Regions from separate parts of the Homo sapiens genome. Here all the other regions are linked to region 1. Evidence: promoter capture Hi-C in 16 types of primary human blood cells and fetal thymus (Javierre and others, 2016). All regions are on one chromosome and are shown on one strand. The core of a region is centred on a gene start or on the middle of the fragment in contact, and the rest is flanking DNA. Distances in the headings are between cores, read along the strand shown.

The links. The method cuts DNA at HindIII sites, captures the fragments that hold promoters and counts their contacts. A CHiCAGO score of 5 or more calls a contact.
Region 2: a fragment that was not itself captured here is called in contact with the fragment with the promoter of KLHL15 in region 1 in 2 of 17 cell types (neutrophils and activated CD4 T cells); the score reaches 5.9 in neutrophils.
Region 3: a contact is called between a fragment that was not itself captured here and the fragment with the promoter of KLHL15 in region 1, in 6 of 17 cell types (activated CD4 T cells, non-activated CD4 T cells, naive CD8 T cells and 3 more). The highest score is 7.1, in activated CD4 T cells.
Region 4: a fragment that was not itself captured here is called in contact with the fragment with the promoter of KLHL15 in region 1 in 11 of 17 cell types (activated CD4 T cells, naive CD4 T cells, naive CD8 T cells and 8 more); the score reaches 14.0 in activated CD4 T cells.
Region 5: a fragment that was not itself captured here is called in contact with the fragment with the promoter of KLHL15 in region 1 in 1 of 17 cell types (activated CD4 T cells); the score reaches 7.1 in activated CD4 T cells.
Region 6: a fragment that was not itself captured here is called in contact with the fragment with the promoter of KLHL15 in region 1 in 8 of 17 cell types (activated CD4 T cells, naive CD8 T cells, naive B cells and 5 more); the score reaches 8.2 in activated CD4 T cells.
Region 7: a fragment that was not itself captured here is called in contact with the fragment with the promoter of KLHL15 in region 1 in 1 of 17 cell types (monocytes); the score reaches 5.3 in monocytes.

The regions. Positions count from the first base shown.
Region 1 is chrX:24,025,921-24,028,666 of GRCh38, reverse strand. KLHL15 (kelch like family member 15) reads left to right here and starts at 1,481. Exons shown (of 4, transcript NM_030624.3): 1 at 1,481-1,527. RefSeq lists enhancers at 402-901, 2,109-2,612, 2,613-2,746. The HindIII fragment of the contact is 3,234 bases long and covers 1-1,857 here.
Region 2 is chrX:23,870,449-23,873,363 of GRCh38, reverse strand. All of the region lies in intron 4 of APOO (apolipoprotein O), which reads left to right. Among named protein-coding and RNA genes, the nearest start is that of APOO, 36 kb to the left of the region's middle. The HindIII fragment of the contact is 5,355 bases long and covers 1-2,915 here.
Region 3 is chrX:24,196,455-24,199,161 of GRCh38, reverse strand. All of the region lies in intron 5 of ZFX (zinc finger protein X-linked), which reads right to left. Among named protein-coding and RNA genes, the nearest start is that of ZFX, 48 kb to the right of the region's middle. The HindIII fragment of the contact is 8,157 bases long and covers 1-2,707 here.
Region 4 is chrX:23,788,224-23,790,923 of GRCh38, reverse strand. No RefSeq gene overlaps it. Among named protein-coding and RNA genes, the nearest start is that of SAT1, 6.4 kb to the right of the region's middle. The HindIII fragment of the contact is 7,227 bases long and covers 1-2,700 here.
Region 5 is chrX:24,256,127-24,258,826 of GRCh38, reverse strand. No RefSeq gene overlaps it. Among named protein-coding and RNA genes, the nearest start is that of SUPT20HL2, 57 kb to the left of the region's middle. The HindIII fragment of the contact is 3,091 bases long and covers 1-2,700 here.
Region 6 is chrX:24,238,042-24,240,788 of GRCh38, reverse strand. No RefSeq gene overlaps it. Among named protein-coding and RNA genes, the nearest start is that of SUPT20HL2, 75 kb to the left of the region's middle. The HindIII fragment of the contact is 1,458 bases long and covers 551-2,008 here.
Region 7 is chrX:23,820,680-23,823,645 of GRCh38, reverse strand. No RefSeq gene overlaps it. Among named protein-coding and RNA genes, the nearest start is that of SAT1, 39 kb to the right of the region's middle. The HindIII fragment of the contact is 3,324 bases long and covers 1-2,966 here.

The DNA.
Region 1 (2,746 bases), core at 232-2,731:
AAAAGTGATTACCAAGACAACTACCACAGACTGGGAATTTCTGAAAAGCCTCAACTTTTCTTTTCTTTTTTTTTTTTTTGAGACAGCGTCTAGTTCCGTTGTCCAGGCTGGAGTGCAGTGGTGCAATCTCGACTCACTGCAACCTCTGCCTCCTGGGCTCAAGCCATACTCCTACCTCAGCCTCCTGAGTAGCTGGGACCGCAGGCCCGCACCACCATGCCAGCTAATTTTTTGTATTTTTAATAGAGACGGGGTTTCACTATGTTCGTCAGGCTGGTTTCCAACTCCTGACCTCTAATGATCCTTCCGCCTCGGCCTCCCAAAGTGCTGGAATTACAGGCGTGAGCCACCACGCCTGGCCTCAATTTCTTAAAAAGCAAAAACAGGAGGGAGGAGGAGGGTATGCAGTATCCTAAATCCTCAGAACCCCTGGGGAAGAACCTCATTCCAACTCCACCAGCACTCCCAGGCCCAGGCTTCTAGCATGCTTCCGACCTCGCTAGCTGCTAAATAAATAGCTATTGAGGAATGTGTATTCTCAAATACTTAGGCTAGAGGGCTAAGAAAAGACAGCTTCCATCTACCTCTGTGGGACTCTACCAGTGTGAAAGGATACTCTCAAGGTATTTAACAACTCCCATTACAGTCCAGAAATTGGTGGGGAAAGTTAAAATATATTTTCTTTTCTTTTTTTTTTTTGAGACGGTGTTTTTGCTCTGTTGCCTGAGCTGGAGTGCAGTGGCTCACGCTTGTAATCCCAGCACTTTGGGAGGCCAAGGCGGGCGATCATGAGGTCGGGGGTTTGAGACCAGCCTAGCCAACACAGTGAAACCCCGTCTCTACTAAAAATACAAAAGTTAGCTGGGCACGGTGGCGAGCGCCTGTAATCCCAGCTACTCGGGAGGCTGAGGCAGGATAATCGCTTGAACCCGGGAGGCGGAGGTTGCAGTCAGCCGAGATCCACTGCACCCCAGCCTGAGCGACAGACTCCATCTCAGAAAAAAACAAGCAAACAAAAACAAAACAAACAAACAAACAAAAACAAGAAAAGAAAAGTTAGCCGAGCATGGTGGGGCACGTCTGTGGTCCTAGCTATTCGGGAGGCTGAGGTGGAAGGATTGCTTGAGCCCGGGAGGTCAAGGCTGCAGTGAGCTGAGATCATGCCTCTGCCCTCCAGCCTGGCCGAGAGTGAGACTGTCTCAAAAAAAAAATAATAATAATAACATAAAAATAAGAAATAAGAGTGAAAGAGGCATCATTGATTGAAGATAACTTGGGGAGGGGTTCATATAGTAAACGTATAGATTGATTGAAAGACACAGCCCAGTTTTAAAACTACATAAATATCCAAAAAAGCACATTTGAAATTCCACGAGACCTTGCAATGTCAAAATAAGGAGGGACGGGAAGCACGGTGATCACACAATGGCTTATGACATACACTCACTACATTTATACCTGGTACAAAGAGCGCAGAAACGTTTCAACTCTTGCTTGAATCAAGAACAGAAGCCTCTCTTTAGACAGGTCAGTGCCACATAGTAATGTATAGCTTAAAATGTTAGTTAATGTACAAAAATCCAAACTCAGCGTTTAGATGTTCGGGAATAATGCATGAACATTTAAATATTCAGAAGTGGAATGTATGCATTTTTAAAGTTTATTTTATGATTTAATTTTAAAAATTTGTTTTAATGTGAAATTCTGGGGTAATTTGTCATGTAGTAATAGATACAAATATGGCAAGCAGGGATTTTTAAATAATGAACAGAAATATCTTAAAGGAGCTATTGGAAAAGATGGAAAGAAAGTGTGAACAACTTGGGAATTTCAGTGTCTTACAGTTTTTTTAAAGCTTGTTATAGTTTAAATCGGAATAAGGAAGCGTATTTCCAAAAGATTGAAGTGATTGTGTTATCTCTCCCACGAAGTAGTCTACTTCAGCAAAACAGTACACCGTGTGCTATTTTGGCCTCTTGGGAAAGATGGTATGTTCAAGTTTGCTAGAAAGAGATAATTATCGCTTTTAGCGACACCTCTCACGGAAAGTTCATCGGGATATTGGTCTAGAGAGAAAATGGCGGCGGGGGGTGGGGGTGGGGGAAGCCGAAATACCTCAGTTTAGGATCTGCTATGGGCAATGGATGCCCTAATTTAAGGTTAATTGTAGATCCACGGGCTTCCAACTGTGTATTTCCGTCATCTACACTTTTCCCAGAAAGAGATGCCATAATAAATTTACAAAACAGTCCTATAGTCTAGTTTTATATTCTTGTCAAGAAAAGGTAATATTTAAAAAGTACTAGCTAGAATTCTATAAAAAACGAACAACAAAAATCACTGCCCTCTGAATGTTCGTTCTTGATTATTTTGACGCAAGTAGAGACAGCTTTTTTAAATCCGGCATTATCTCCGGGTGGTGCAGACATGCAATTTTTTATGAATTTTCCCACCCTTGGGAAATCGATTTCTGAAACGTGTAATTGTTGTGCAGTAAGCCAAGTGGACAGTGACGCAATAGTCCACTGCAAGTTGCCTTACAAAAAATGATGTCATTTGGCGCAGATCTAGTCACTTTTATAACAGGTAGCTATGGAAAAGCTCCCTCCACGTTGTCCCCGATTCCCCCACCCCCACCGTGGCCAAGATGCAAAAAGACACTTTCCTGGCTTCCTAGCCCTCAACTTGTCGAGGGTGGGCGCACCGCAGTGGCTCAGGGCCCATCGCTCGTGCAGGCGGAGAGAGA
Region 2 (2,915 bases), core at 9-2,508, 160 kb after region 1:
TATTGGGATTACAGGCGTGAGCCACCGTACCTGGCCCCCTACTGGTTCTTTAAATTATTAAGGCATGTTAATAAGTAACATCTTAATTTTATTAATTTCATAAACACTTATTTAAGACTTATATGTCAGGTACTATTCTAAGTGCTTTACAAATACCAATTTATTGGGGGTGGAGTGAGGATGGTTAATGAGTACAAAAATATAGTTAGAATGAATAAGACCTAGTATTTGATAGCACAGTAGGGTGACTGCAGTCAATAATACTTTATTATACATTTTATTTTTTATTATTTTATTTATTTTTTATTTTTTTGAGACAGATTCTCACTCTGTTGCCCAGGCTGGAGTGCAGTGGTGCTATCTTGGCTCACTGCAACCTCTGCCTCCCAGGTTCAAGCAATTCTCCTGTCTCAGCCTCCCGAGTAGCTAGGACTGCAGGCACACGCCACCACACCCAGCCTATTTTTTGTATTTTTAGTAGAGACGGGTTTCACCATATTGGTCAGGCTGGTGTAGAACTCCTGACCTCAGGCGATCCACCCACCTCAGCCCCCCAAAGTGCTGGGATTACAGGTGTGAGCCACCGCGCCTAGCTTATTGTACATTTTAAATAACTAAAAAAGCTATACTCTTTTAGGTATTGTAAATAAACTGAAAGAGTATAATTGGGATGCTTGTAACACAAAGAAAAATGATAAATGCTTGAGGTAAAGGATACTTCATTTACCCTGATGTGATTATTATGCATTGTATGCCTGAACCAAAATACCTCATTTACCCCGTAAATATATACACCTACTATGTACCCACAAAAATTTTATATATATATATATATATATATAAATTCTCATAACAAGCTGACAGATACCTTATTATCTTCATTTTTATCCGAGGAAACTAGAGAACTCCTGATATAGTCTTTTATCTGTCCATGTGTGGCTGAGAGGTCTCTTGTTTAAATTTTTCTGAGACAGGATCTTTCTCTGTCATCCAGGCTGGAATCCAGTGGCGTGATCATAGCTCACTGCAGCCTCAACCTCCTGGGCTCAAGCAATCCTTCCAGCTCAGCCTCCCGAGTAGCTAGGATTACAGGCATGTGCCATCACATTTTTTCCACTTTTTGTAGAGGCAGGGTCTCACTTTTTTGCCCAGACTCCGTACAGTCTTAAAACATATCTTCTTTCCCCTTTCTTTGTGATTTACCCACTTTGGCCCAGCTCACCAGAGCCATCTGGGTGTCCCTCTGTCAACTGCTCTGTGTACACATCTAGAATTGAGCAACACTGGGCTAGTAGGCAAAAATAAAGGGAAGTAAAAAATTGCCTCAAATGACCCAGACTAGAGGATGGAAAGTAAAAACTAGGCTAAAGGCAAAATAAGTAACAGGCCAGACAGTAATTAATGCAAACATAATACAAGTCCTATAGTAGTATTTAAAATGATCACATTTCCCAAAGAACCCAGGAAAAGGAAAACTGGCGTGTATCTGGTATTACTTAGGGGACAGAATTGCTGAGTTTTCCAGTTTATTAGTTCAGTTCTGTATATATTTTTTAAGTCACCATTCTGCCAGGCCTCGAAAATTGAGATTGGTTAAGACAGTGGTCACAACCACTGAGATGCGTGTAATATATTATTCAGTACTAGTGCAAATACAGAGATAATCACAGACCATTATTGAAGGTACAGAGGAAGGAGATTAGTTTAATTGAAATCGAGGAGGTGGGAGCAGTCAGGGAAGGACTTCTGAAGTGAATCTTGAAGGAGCAGTGTTAGCCACTCCAAAATGTGGGGGTGGGACTGCTGGAAGCAGGCATTGCACACTGGGCCCAGCATGATCAGGCTTAGAGGTGTGACTTGGTATTGGATGTTTGAGGAACCCTAAGTAGATAGGGAGTGCTGAAGATGAGATTGAGAAGGAGACATGAGGGCTTTGTGTAAGTCATGACCTAGCTAAAATTCATTTGTTAATTCATCCAGTATTTTTTTTTTTTTTTTTTTGAGACGGAGTCTTGCTCTGTCGCACAGGCTGGAGTGCAGTGGCGCGGTCTCGGCTCACTACAAGCTCCGCCTCCTGGGTTTACGCCATTCTCCTGCCTCAGCCTCCCGAGTAGCTGGGACTACAGGCGCCTGCCACCACACCTGGCTAATTTTTTTTTTTTTTTTGGTATTTTTAGTAGAGTTGGGGTTTCACCATGTTAGCCAGGATGGAATACATCCAGTATTTATCAACTCCTGGCAGTGTGATTTTTGTTTTTTTGTTTTTTTGTTTTTTGAGACAGAGTCTCGCTCTGTTGCCCAGGCTGGAGTGCAATGGTGTGATCTCGGCTCACTGCAACCTCTGCCTCCCAGGTTCAAGCGATTCTCCTGCCTCAGCCTCCTGAGTAGCTGGGATTACAGGCACACGCCACCACGCCTGGCTAATTTTTGTATTTTTAGTAGAGACGGGGTTTCACCATGTTGGTCAAGCTGGTCTCGAATTCCTGACCTTGTGATCTGCCTGCATCGGCCTCCCAAAGTGCTGGGATTACAGGCGTGAACCACTGCGCCTGGCCTGTTTTTGTTTTTGTTTGGAGACAGGGTCTCATTCAGTCACCTAGGCTGGAGTGTAGTGGCATGATCATAGCTCATTGCAGTCTTGACTTCCTGGACTCAAGCAATCCTCCCACCTCAGCCTCCCAAGTAGCTGGGACCACAGACATGCATCACCACACCTGGCTAATTTTTTTTTTTAATTTTTTGTAGAGACAGGGTTTCGCCATGTTGCCCAGGCTGTTCTTGAACTCCTGGACTCAAGCAATCCTCCCACCTTGGCCTCCCAAAGTGCTGGGATTACAGGCGTGAACCACTACACCCAGCCATCATTCTTAATAAATATCTATTGAATGAACATCCATTATTACCACTGAGGGAAG
Region 3 (2,707 bases), core at 66-2,565, 170 kb before region 1:
GCAGCATCTGACAGATGCTCACTCTCTGTGATTTACTTTCCTCACTTGGCTCCCCTGACCCAACCTCTTGGTTTCCTCTCACCTCACTAACCAAGACCATGCCTCCTCACTCTTTTGCTGGAGCCTCCTCTTACCGCCTAATGCTGCAAACCCCAGGGCTTAGTCCTTAGTCTTAGTTTGTCTACAATCACTCCTTTGGTTATCTCTTTCTGTCTGATGGCTTAAATTTCATCTATGTACCAACAACTCCCAAATTTACATCTCCACTCTAGACCTGTCTCCATAACTCAGATTTGTACATGTATTTCCTCTTTGGTGTCTATCAGATGTCTCAAAAATAAGTCTCTGCTCAAATGTTACCTTCTCAGCAAAACCCTGACCATACTTATAACCCAAATCCTCCTTATACTGCTTTTTACCTCCCTAAGTACGTATCACCTTATAATATGCTGTATTACTCACCTATATCTGTGTACCTCTGCTAGAATGTAATGTCTATAAGGGAAAGAAACTTCCCTGTGTTTTGTTCACTAATGTATTCCAAGTGCCTACAATACTGCCCAGCATATAGAGTAAGCAAGCAACATTCATTCGTTAAATATATGAATGCTAATCTTCAAGTAAATGTTTGGTCATTAAGATATTAGTTCTTAACCCTCTAAAAAAAAAAAAAAAAAACAAAGCCAGGTGCAGTGGCTCACGCCTATAATCACACCACTTTGGGAGGCCAAGGTGGGAGGATTGCTTCAGCCTGGGTAATATAGTGAGACCATCTCTAAAAAAATTTTTAAATTAGCTGGGCATGGTGGTATGGGGCTGTGGTCCCAGCTGCTCGGGAGGCTGAGGTAGGAGGATCACTTCAGCCCAGGAGGTCAAGGCTGCAGTGAGTCATGATCGTGCCACTGCACTCTAGCCTGGGCAACAAAGCGAAACCCCACTTCAAAAAATAAATAAAAGAAAAAATATTATAAAAGCATCCATATTTTGCCTATAATACACAAATAAGTTTTAGAGCCAGCATCTACTGTCACTATGTGAAAGATGTGGAAGTTAACATTTTGACTTCTCCACTCCCCCAAATATTTTATAGCTAGTTTTATATTAAATGAATTCACTGCTCATTTCTAGTTTTTTTAAAATCAGTTTCTCCATTCTAGGGTTCTTTCTATTGATTGATCCTTTCATCTGCTAGATTCAATACCAAATAGTTCCCCCATCCCTGTCAAGAAAGGCCAATGGGTACTACAGTCCCTGAATTCCTGAATACTTGAAAATGTTGGTCCATGGCCTTTACTTGAAGAATGAATTGGCTGAGTACAAAACTCTTAGGTTACAATTTCCTCAGAACTTTGCAGACATTGTTCCACTGTCTCCTAGCATTGAGCATTTGTGTGTGGATGTCCCTGTAATTCTTGATCCTTAAAGTTCACTAAATAACAGTATGATTATGATTTGCTTGTTTTACCATTTTGACAATTTCTTGGAACAAGAAAGATCCTAATCTTTATCTCAGGAAAAAAATCTCCCATTATAAATATTTTTCTAGTTCATTAGTTGTTCTCTTCTGGAATTTCACTTATGTGTGTTTGTATCCTTTATCTTTCTCCATATCTATCCTCCTTCTCCATAAGCATTTTCACAATTTTATTTTCTTACAATTTCATTTTGTGATTTCTTAAAGCCCAATCCCTCTGTCCTTGGCTATATGCTAAGATACATTTTTTCTTATTGTTGCTTCTCTGGTGGCTTTTACCTTGATCATATTTTTTTCTCTTCAGCTTCTTTCTGAATTTTGTCAATTTCTACTCTAACTGCCCCTATTGCCTTGTAATATATGATAAATAAATGTTTTTGTTTTGGTAGAGATGGGATCTGTGTTGCCCAGGCTGGCCTCGAACTCCTGGCCTCAAGCAATCCTTCCACTTCCATTTCCTACAGCGCTGGGATTACAGGTACAAGCCACCACACCTGGCCTGTCTCAAGTTTTTAAAAAGACATCATATTGTTTGCAATTTCACTGAGCCTGCAGATCAGTGCTAACCAACAGAACTTTCTTTGATGAAGGAAATGCTCTGCACTAGCCACATGTAGCTATTGAGTACTTGAACTGTGACTGGTGCAACGCAGGAACTGTATGTTTAATTCATTTTAACAACTTTATTTAGCCAAATATGTGGCTAGTGGCTACTATTAGAGGAAATCTCCAAATTCAAAGGGCTCCCATGCATGAAAATACAATGCATAAACAAACAAACAAACCAACCTACAGCCAAACATGGTGGCTCACACCTGTAATCCCAACACTTTGGGAGGCCAAGGTGGGAGGATCACTTAAGCGAGAAGTTTGAGACCAGCCTGGACAACATAGTGAGACCCCATCTCTACAAATAAAATAAATTAGCTGGGTGTGGTAGCACATGCCTGCAGTCCCAGCTCCACAGGAGGCTGAGGCAGGAGGACTGTTTGAGCCCAGGAGTCCAAGGTTGCAGCAGTGAGCCATGATCACACCACTGCACTCTAGCCTGGGCAACAGAGCAAGATCCTGTCTCCCAAAAGAAAAAAAAAGGTAATACAAGGGGGAAAGGAGACAATTAAAATTTCTAGGGGAAAAAAGCTGTATGCAAAAATGTAATCAAAGTGATCAATGGTTATGCTGCAAATGATATTTTCACAATCAAAATAATGTAAGCACTGAGTACTGATTTTC
Region 4 (2,700 bases), core at 96-2,595, 240 kb after region 1:
TGAGCCAAGATCACGCCACTACACTCCAGCCTGGGGGACAGAGTGAGACTCCATCTCAAAAAAAAAAAAAAAAGAAATCTCTCTCAGGATGGGGCATTAGTATTTTTACAGTGCTTTCTAGGCCATTCTAATGTGTAGCCCATACTGAGAATCACTGCTTTTGATTATCCAGAAAATGCTTATACTGATTATTCTTTGCAGTAGAATCACACAGAAACACCATATTCAATCATTCTTATAGAAACTGTGAGGTCCTGTGAGACTATGGCAGGAAGCCCCAGGGGTTTGAGAAATTGGTTTGGAGCTTGATTCCCAGGTCTAGTTGTGTGGCCTTGGGCAACTTAACTTCTCTTAGGTTTAGTTTCTCATTGTAAAAAGAAACTTATAATTGTACCAATCTCATACAGTCGTTGTGAGAATTAGATGAGATAATAATGTATACAAAGTGCTAAACTGAAAGCCTGGTTCCTGATTAGTGCTTAATAAATGTTAGCTCTTATCACTAGTTTTTTTCTTTTTCTTTTTTTTTTTTTTTTTTGAGACGTAATCTTGCCCTGTCGCTCAGGCTGGAATGCAGTGGCGTGATCGCGGCTCACTGCAACCTCCACCTCCCGGGTTCACGTGAGCCGAGATCGCGCCACTGCACTCCAGCCTGAGCAACAAAAGCGAAACTCTGTCTCAAAACAAACAAACAAACAAACAAACATGGCACCAGTCAAGGAAATAGAATTCTAGGAGCAGACATGGTCACCTGCAGACTCAGAGGAAGGCCATGGCTGTCACAGTCAGTGAGGAAGTTGCTTCACTCCTAGCAGGAGAAGGTGGCTGGTTTCCCAGGGCCTGGCAGTTCCATCAGTTGCTGGTGAGCAGCCACCTGCTTCAGTGAACCGTGATGAGCATCATCCATTCTAGGCCCTGCTGGGTCCCCAGTGGAAAGGAGACTCACAGGAAGGGGTAGAGTGGGTCGAAGGCATTAATAAATCATTAGGTTTCTTCTGAATTGCTTCTTCAGCATTTCTGTAAAAAAGACTCTACTTTCTTTCCCTAGAAAGACTACTGTGTGGAATCTAAGCGGTTGATGATCTTGGACTCTGGTTTTCCATGTTTATCATTGTTTGTTGTTTCTTTTCAGATAATTTCCCCGTAACATGTTTTCTTACTTGCCTGGTGACTTCAAACTTTATAGATTTGCTTTATAGTTCAGTTTTTAAAGAGGTCTCTTTGTAATTGAGTTGAGCTAGTAGTGGGCTAATGCTGTGGTGTTTCAGCTTCTTCTTTTTTTTTTTTTTTTTGAGACAGAGTCTCACACTGTTGCCCAGGCTGGAGTGCAATGGTGCAATCTCTGCTAACTGCAACCTCCACCTCCTGGGTTCAAGTGATTCTCCTGCCTCAGCCTCCTGAGTAGCTGGGATTACAGGGGCCTGCCACCACCCCGGGCTAATTTTTTGTATTTTTAGTAGAGACAGGGTTTCACTATATTGGCCATGCTGGTCTCGAACTCCTGACCTCGTGATCTGCCCGCCTTGGCCTCCCAAAGTGTTGGGATTACAGGCGTGAGCCACTGCTCCCAGTTGGCGTTTCAGCTTCTAAATTTTACAGCTGGCTGGGCGCAGGCTCATGCCTGTAATCCCAGCTCTTTGGGAGGCTGAGGGGGGAGGATCATTTGAGGCCAGGAGTTGGAGACCAGCCTGGGTGATGTAGCAAGACCTCATCTCTACAAAAAATTAAAAAAAAAAAAAAGAAAAGCTGGGCGTGGTGGTGCGTTCCTGTGGTCTAGCTACTTGGGATGCTGAGGTGGGAGGATTGCTGGAGCCCAGAAGGTCGAGGTTGCAGTAAATTGTGATTGCACCACTGCACTCCAGCCTGGGCAATGGAGTGAGAACCTGTCTCAAGAAAAAAAAAAAAAAGAAAACAACTAAAAACAAATAAAAATTAAAATAAATAAAATTTACACTTAAGGGGCTTCTTTAAAGTGGATACAAAACTTCATAAAAGCCTTCATCTTCACAACACTGGGCCTTTAAGGCTAAGTTCTAAGAAAGATGAGGAAACAAAGAGTTATATTGTAACTTGGTGGTTAATTTAATTTATTCCTATATTTAACCACAGTCAGCATGTAGTTGTTTTCCTCTAAGAGGCTCACTTTCCAAAACACAATTTGCAAAATATCTTACTTCTCCACAAGGCTCTTTGTGTTTAGTTACCCTTTCATTTTTGCCAGAGTTTCTCTTATGTAGTTACTTGCCTGCCTAATAGGGCCCCTGGTTGATCATTGACTCTGTAAGCCCATTTTCATGGCATGCTCTCTGAGCCACCAATAAATCCCAAAGCCCTCCTGTATTAAATATAATACAGGGCTACATTTTTATATGTGGCTGCCTTCTAATCTAGGAAGCCATAACAGACACTGATACAAAGGCTTGCAGGACAACATTACCTTTGACTGAGGAGCTCAGTACTGATTTGCTGGAGAACTCAGAGAGATACAGAGCATTGTTTTCAGGTATCTGACTTCTTTTGGAAAACATTTATCTTGGACATTAGTCTACAGTGGTTCTTATCAACTACTGTTTTCATTATTGTGGAAATTAGTCGGTTTAGGAATTTGGGCCAATGTCATGAATAATGAAAGGAGTTCACATATCTAGGGGGAAATGGTCTTTTTCTTTTTCATTTCAGTCCTTAAGAAAGCACTTGTTT
Region 5 (2,700 bases), core at 60-2,559, 230 kb before region 1:
TGGGTCCACATCCAGTGGTCTTCACTGGACAGCCAGTGATGCGGTTTGAGCAGTACTCCAGGCTGAGTAACATTTAAGTCCAACACTCCGGCCCTCTCAGAGATCTGTGAACTAATTTTCTTTGTTTGTTTGTTTGAGACAGATTCTCATTCTGTTGCCCAGGCTGGAACTCAGTGGCACGAACTCGGCTCACTGCAACCTCCGCCTCCTGGGTCCAAGCGATTCTCCTGCCTCAGCCTCCCGAGTAGCTGGGACTACAGGCACCCGCAACCACGTCTGGCTAATTTTTTGTATTTTTAGTACAGATGGGGTTCCACCATGTTGGCCAGGCTGGTCTCAAACTCCTGACCTCAGGTGATCTGCCCACCTCAGCCTCCCAAAGTGCTGGGCTTACAGGTGTGAGCCACCGCGCCTAGCCCGTGAACTAATCTTCTTTAATAAACTCCCTCTTGGGCCAGGCGCAGTGGCTCATGCCTATAATCCCAGCACTTTGGGAGGCCAAGGTGGGCGGATCATCTGAGGTCAGGAATTTGAGACCAGCCTGGCCAGCATGGTGAAACCCTGTCTCTACTAAAAATACAAAAATTAGCCGGGTGTGGTAACAGGTGCCTGTAATCTCAGCTACTTGGGAGGCTGAGGCGGGAGAATCGCTTGAACCCAGGAGGCGGAGGTTGCAGTGAGCCGAGATCGTGCCACTGCACTCCAGCCTGGGTGACAAGAGCAAAACTCTGTCTCAAAAATAAATAAAAATAAACTCCCTCTCTGCCTGCATGATTGTTCTAGTACTTTTGCTACATTACAAATCAACCTAAAACTTAGTGGATTATGTAGTTTAAGTAGGGTTTCTCGATCTCAGCACAGTTGGCATTTGGGACCAGATAATTCTTTGTCCTGGAGGCTGTCCTGTGTCCCTGCAGGATGTTTAGCAGCACCCCTGGTCTCCACCCACTGGAAGCAAGTACCACCATGCACCCACCTCCAAGTTATGACAATATCTCCAGGCATTGCCACACATCCCGGGGCGGGGTGCAGCGCGGTGCAAAATCTCCCCCAGTTGAGAATTACTGGCTTAAAGCAACATTCAAGTATTGAGGACTGTATTAGCTGGGAGGGTCTGGCTTAGTGTGATTCATGCAGTTGTAGTCAAATGGTAGTTAGAGCTGGACCAGTGGGGGATTGCAGCAGCGGGGGGCTGGCTGGAAATCTTTTTCTTCTCATGTAGCCTCAAGGGCTCTTCCCATGATCTCTCTGTATGAGCTTGTTTGGGCTTTGTCATAGCATAGTGACGTCAGGTTTAACTACTTGTATGGAAGCTCTGGGCTCCAAAGGGGTGTCTCAAAAAACTAGGTAATGCCTCTTAAGACCTAGCCTCAGAAATCACATGTTACCATTTCCACCATAGTCACAAGATTCAAGGGGAGGGAACACAGATGCCACCTCTCCATAGGAAGAATGCTAAAGTTACATTATAAGGTCATGTGGAATGGGAGACATTGTTGAGAATTTCTTTAGGAAAATCTCATCTGTCCCAGTGATCAACGTCACTACTCATCAGGAAAATGCAAATTAAAACCATGAGATACCTCTACAAATCCCCAGAATGGCTAAAAATAAAAAGGCTCATAATACTAGGTATTGGCAAGGATGTGGAGCAACTGGAACTTTCATACATTGCTGATGGGAATATAAATTGGTACAACCACTGTGGAAACATTATTTAACTGTATCTACTAAAGCTAAATACATGCCTGGTCTATGGCCCAACAATCTCTTTCCTAGGTTTGCACCTAAGAGAAATAAATGCATATGTATACCAAAAGACATGAATGAGAATGTTCCTAGAAGTTTTATTCAGCATAACTAAAAACTGGAAAAGAACCAAATGTCTGTCAATAGGAGAAGGAATATGTGATCTATTCATCCAATAGAACATTACACTGCAATACAAAAGGACAACTTATATACACAACAAGGGTGAATCTCCTAACTATATGTTCAGCAAAGGAAGTCAGACACATACGTATGGTGTAATTCCATGTATATAATGTTCAAAAACAGGAAAACTAATCGATGATGATAGAAATCAGAGGAAATGGTTACTTGTAGTGGGAAGAGGGGATTCATACTGGGAAGAGGCACAAAGAACTTCTGGAAGGCTGAGGAGGATCATCTATATTTTGATCCAGGTGGTGATTACACAAGTGTATACACATGTAAAAGTTAAGGTGTATAATGTATTAACTCTCTTTGAGTACTTTATTCCATTCCTCAGTAAAAAGTAGAAATAGGCCGGGCGCAGTGGCTCGTGCCTGTAATCCCAGCACTTTGGGAGGCCGAGGCAGGCGGATCACCTGAGGTCGGGAGTTCAAGACCAGCCTGACCAACATGGAGAAAGCCCATCTCTACTAAAAATACAAAAATTAGCTGGGTGTGGTGGCACATGCCTGTAATCCCAGCTACTCGGGAGGCTGAGGCAGAAGAATCGCTTGAACCTGGGAGGCGGAGGTTGCAGTGAGCCAAAATCGTGCCACTACACTCCAGCCTGGGCAACAAAAGCGAAACTCTGTCTAAAAAAAAAAAAAAAAAAGTAGAAATAAAATTCCTTTGCTGTTTAAAAGTAGTTAGTAGATTCTATCAGTTAAACTAAGACCTTCACCCTTCACGTCAGGAGGATGGTGACCCTTGCTGCTAGGAGGTCCG
Region 6 (2,747 bases), core at 30-2,529, 210 kb before region 1:
AGACGCAGTTTCACCATGTTGGCCAGGCTGGTCTCGAACTCCTGACCTCAAATGATCTGCCCACCTTGGCCTCCCAAAGTGCTGGGATTACAGGTGTGAGCCAGGCCGGATCATATGGTAATTCTATGTTTAACTTTTTAAAAACCACCATACTGTTTTCCACAGCAGCTGCAACGTTTTACATTCCTACCAGCAATATACAAGGGTTCCAATTTCTCTGTATCCCCATAACACTTGTTATTTCCATTTTTTTATAATAACCATCCTGGTGGGTATGAAGTAACATCTCATTGTGGTTTTAATTTGCATTTACCTAATGACTAATGACGTTGAGCATCTTTTCATGTGCTTTTGGTCCATGTCTAAGTCTTCTTTGGAGAAATGTCTATTTAAGTCTTTTGCCCATTTAAAAATTGGGTCGTTTGCTTGTACTTGAGTTGTAGGAGTTCTTTATATTTTTTGGATATTAAACCCTCATCATATGTATGATTTTCAAAACTTTCCCCCATCTTTTCACTTTCTTGATAATGTCCCCTGAAACATGCAAGCTTTTAATTTAGATGAAGTTCAATTTATCTATTTTTTCTTTTGTTTCTTGTGCTTTTAGTGCCATATTTAGATAAATGAATGTCTTCATGAAATACAATAGAAAAATCACAATGTGGCCAGGCACAGTGTCTCATGCTTGTAATCCCAGCACTTAGGCCAAGGCGGGTGGGTCACTTGAGCTCAAGAGTTCGAGACCAGCCTGGGCAACATGGGGAAACCTTGTCTCTACAAAAAAAATATAAAAATTAGCCAGGCATGATGGTGTACACCTGTAATTCCAGCTACTCAGGAGGCTGAGGTGGCTGAGGTAGGAGGATCATTTGTGCCTGGGAGGCGGAGGCTGCAGTGAGCTATAATTATCCAACTGCACTCCAGCCTGGGCGACAGAGGAGACCCTGACTCAGAAAAAATCAGACTGGGCGCGGTGGCTCATGACTGTAATCCCTAATCCCAGCACTTTGGGAGGCCGAGGCAGGTGGATCACCTGAGGTCAGGAGTTCAAGACCAGCTTGGCCAACATGGTGAAACCGTCTCTATTAAAAATAAAAAAAATGAGCCTGGTGTAGTGGCAGGTGCCTATAGTCCCCAGCTACTCGGGAGGCTGAGGCAAGAGAGTCGCTTGAACCCGGGAGGCAGAGGCTGTAGTGAGCCGAGACTGTACCACTGCACTCCAGCCTGGGCAACAGAGTGGGACTCTATCTCAAAAAAAAAAAAAAAAAAAATTCACGATGCCTTACACATAGGGTAAACATTGTTTAATGAAACTCTTGTCTCAGTTACCTGTATCATGAATGAACATCTATGTAAAATGTATTTCTTCTTACAGGTCACAGTGAACATTTTTTGAAATTCATCAACGTGGAGTAATTCCCTGTCACATACTTAAATATTCTCCTTCTTCCTTCTACTTAAACACAGAAGCCTGTCACGGTGGGGAGCTTGCGCCCTTCCAAGGCAGCCTCCTGGCATTTAGATACAAATTTCAAATGGATCACATGCACCTAAATCCCTTCCAAATGACTGAAATCACAGGAAAAAAATTTTTTAATTATTTATGTATAATACCACTAGAAAGCCAAACACTATAAACCAAAAGATTTGAGGAACTCTTGAAGGAAAAACAGAAGGTGAGAACAAACCCAAGAGGAAACTGAGGAAGGAGACTGGAAAAATTGGGGAGCAATAGATGGAGTGTGCAGGGGTCATGGGACAATCTTCCAGGTGGTTAATTTGAAGACTACATGTGGAATATTCTCTCTCTTTCTCTCCCTCTTTCTCTCCCTTTCCCTACCCTCCCACCTCCGCCCCCGCTCAGCCCCCTCTTCGCCCCCTCTCCTCTCTCCCATTTTCTCTAAGGGCTTGTGCTTACTCTTTGCCTAAAACTGCCCCCGGGGCCACCATTCCCCAAGTGACAAAGGCAGCCCCACTCCACTCAACCCCATAATCCTCAAAACAAGCTTCTCCATCAGAGCCAGCATCCGTAGCCGCAAAAGCAGAAGATCTCACACAGCAAAAGGAGCACACAGACAAAAACCACAGGACACCTGAAGAAATCCATTGCCACGAAAGACAGGCACCAAGCTCAACCAACACAAGGAACAGCTTATGGAGAGATAGTTTTGTGTGTTTTTTTTCTTTCCACTCCACCTCAAGGAGCCTGCCACATCCCAAGTTAGGGGTGATAAGAGGGCTTTTTAAAAACGTAACTGATCACACCTGTAATCCCAGCATTTTGGGAGGCCAAGATGGGAGGATTACTTGAGGCCAGGGGTTTGAAACAGCCTGGGCTTAATATAGTGAGACCCCATCTCAAAAAAAAAAAACTAATTAAATGTTGAGAAGGAGACACGAACTCTTTCAGCATAATTAAGTTCAAAATATACACCAACAGGAAGTTCTCCTTCACAGAAATGTCTGATTGCTTTATAACTATTTCACCCACAAGTCACGGCATCACGATGAACTCTTCCACTGTCGACTTCCACCTTCAGGACCCTAAAGGTTTCTCCCCCTCACCTCTATCCAAGAGGGAAAGTGGATGGGCTACAATGTAACTGACAGTCCATGACAGAAGAGGAGACAGGAAGATGAAAGAGGATAACAGATAAAAAGACTAAGGAATATGGGGAAAGGGACAAAGATGGGAAGGAAATGGTTCAAGGAGGTCACTCTCTACTGACTGAAGGACCGGACACAGG
Region 7 (2,966 bases), core at 293-2,792, 210 kb after region 1:
CTATGCTCATTAAGTCTAGGGCACCAAGCTCTGTTGTATCAGGTCACAGAGACTGTGCAAACGTTGTGAGTTATGGCAAATGCCTGGCTTCCTTCTGTGAATCTGGTGAATTTTGGTCATTGCTAGGCAGAAGATGCCTACATGACCAGACTCCAATAAAACCCTTTGGTGCCGGCTGGGCAAGGTAGCTCATGCCTGTAGTCCCAGCACTTTCCGAGGCAGGTGGATCACTTGAGGCCAGGAGTTTGAGACCAGCCTGACCAACATGGTGAAACCCCATCTCTACTAAAAACACAAAAATTAGCCAGGTGTGGTGGCACGCGCCTGCAGTCTCAGCTACTCAGGAGGCCAAGGCAGGAGAATCACTTGAGCCCAGGAGTTTGAGGCTGTAGTGAGCCGTGATCATGCCACTGCACTTCAGCCTGGGTGACAGAGCGAGATTCTGTCTCAAAACAAAACAAAAAAAGGCTTTGGCGGTGAATCTCTGATAGGCTTCTCTGGGCAGAAGCATTGCACACGTGTGGCTTCAGTTTTGCTGCTGGAGAAGGGAGCATGCTCAACGTGTGCCCTCCCGGGTTGGGAGGGAGAAAGCATGGGAAGCCTGTGTGTGGATTTCTCCAGACTCTGCTGTGTCTTTTTCCTTTGCTGGTCCTGTCATGAATCCTTTGTTAGGATAAACCTAAGGCATGAGAACATGTATGTTGAGTCCTTTGAGTCATTTTAAGCAAATCTTGAGGACCCACCACCGAAAACAGCATGTTAAGATGGTGTTTGTTTTATGTCATGCCATCTTGCCATCAGCTTTAGAAGAACATAAATAAAAGGACCATTATATTTACATTAAATATTTCCAGGTCACAAGACATTAAAAAAACTGTTTTTATTCATCTTCTTCAAGCAAAGAGAAAGTAGTTTTTGAAAGCCACAGAAAACTCTAAGCTCCCTTGTTTAGACCAAATTAGTGATTGGGTTTTTTTCCTGATTCTCACAGTAGAGTCTTTCTTCCTTCCCTCACGCTATGGAGGCAAGCGGTTTGGGCTGGTTCATAAGTAAATAGGTCATAAACTGCACTCCATTCAAAAGTGACGTCTTTATGAAAGCATTTATTTGTCCTACAGAGAGAGCACTGGCTCATTTCAAATATTGTTCTCAGCCTAGATCAGAATGCTAAAGAGCACACATTGCACATTTTGTTTTAAACACAATAGTTTAATTGTTTGTTTCTTAGTGGTGCCATAAATATTTCCCTGGGAAAGCACTACCAAATAGGTGAGACTTTTAGAAGTCTGTGTGGAATCATACACCTAAATGTCGTAACTAAATCTGTTAGACTTTCAGAAGACAGCATAGGAATAAATCTTGGAAAAGGAGTAAATCGTGATCTTGGGTTAGGCAGTGGTTTTTTAGATACAACACCAAAAGCACGGGTGACAAAACAGATAAATTGGACTACCTCAGAATGTAGAAACTTTTGTGCTATAAATTATACCATCAAGAAAATAAAAAGGCAGTTGGGTGTGGTAGCTCATGCCTGTAATCCCAGCACTTAGGGAGGCCAAGGCAGGTGGATCACTTGAGCCCAGGAGTTTGAAACCACCCTGGGCAGCTTAGCAAGACCCTGTCTCTACCAAAAAAATATCAAAATTAGCCAGGCGTGGTAGCACACACCTGTAGTCTCAGCTACTCAGGAGGCTGATGGAGGATTGCTTGAGCCCAGGAGGTTGAGGCTGCAGTGGGCCATGAGCCTGGGTGACAATAAAACCCTTTCTTTAAAAAAACAAGCTGAATGCAGTGGCTCACACCTGTAATCCCAGCACTTTGGGAGGCCGAGGTGGGAGGATTGCTTGAGCCCAGGAGTTCGAGACCCACCTGGGAAACATAGCAAGACCTCATTTCTATTAAAAAAGTAATAAAGAAAAAAACCCATGGAGTACAGGAAAATATTTGTACATAGATCTGATAAGAGGCTCGCATATACAGAATATTTAAAGAACTTTTACAACTCAACAATAAGAAAACAACCCAATTAAAACTGAGCAGAGGGCCAGGCGCGGTGGCACAAGCCTGTAATCCCAGCACTTTGGGAGGCCAAGGCGGGTGGATCATCTGAGGTCAGGAGTTCAAGACCAGCCTGGCCAACATGGTGAAACCCCGTCTCTACTAAAAATACAAAAATTGGCCAGGCGTGGTGGTTCACGCCTGTAATCCCAGCACTTTGGGAGGCCAAGGCGGGTGGATCATTTGAGGTCAGGAGTTCAAGACCAGCCTGACCAACATGGTGAAACCCTGTTCTACAAAAAATGCAAAAATTAGCCAAACGTGGTGGCACACGCCTGTAATCCCAGTTATTGGGGAGACTGAGGCAGTAGAATCCCTGGGAGGTGAAGGTTGCAGTGAGCTGAGATCGTGCCACTGCACTCCAGCCTGGGCAACAGAGCGAAACACTGTCTCAAAAAAAAAATTAGCCGGGTGTGGTGGCATACGCCTGTACTCTCAGCTACTCGGGAGGCTGAGGCAGGAGAATCACTTGAACCCAGGAGGCGGAGGTTGCAGTGAGTCGAGATTACGCCACTGTACTCCAGCCTGGGCGACAGAGTGAGACTCCCTCTCAAAAAATAAAACAAAGGATTTGAACAGACTCTTTTTTTTTTTTTTTGAGATGGAGTCTTGCTCTGTCACCCAGGCTGGAGTGCAGTAGCACGATCTCAGCTCACTGCAACCTCTGCCTCCTGGGTTTAAGCAGTTCTGCCTCAGCCTCTTGAGTAGCTGGGACTACTAGCGCACACCGCCATGCCTGGCTAATTTTTTGTATTTCAGCAGAGGTGGGGTTTCACCGTGTTGCCCAGGCTGGTTGCGAACTCCTGAGCTCAGGCAGTCTGCCCACCTCGGCCTCCCAAAGTGCTGGGATTACAGACATGAGCCACCGTGCCCAGCCTGACAGACATTTTTAAAAAGAAGATATACAA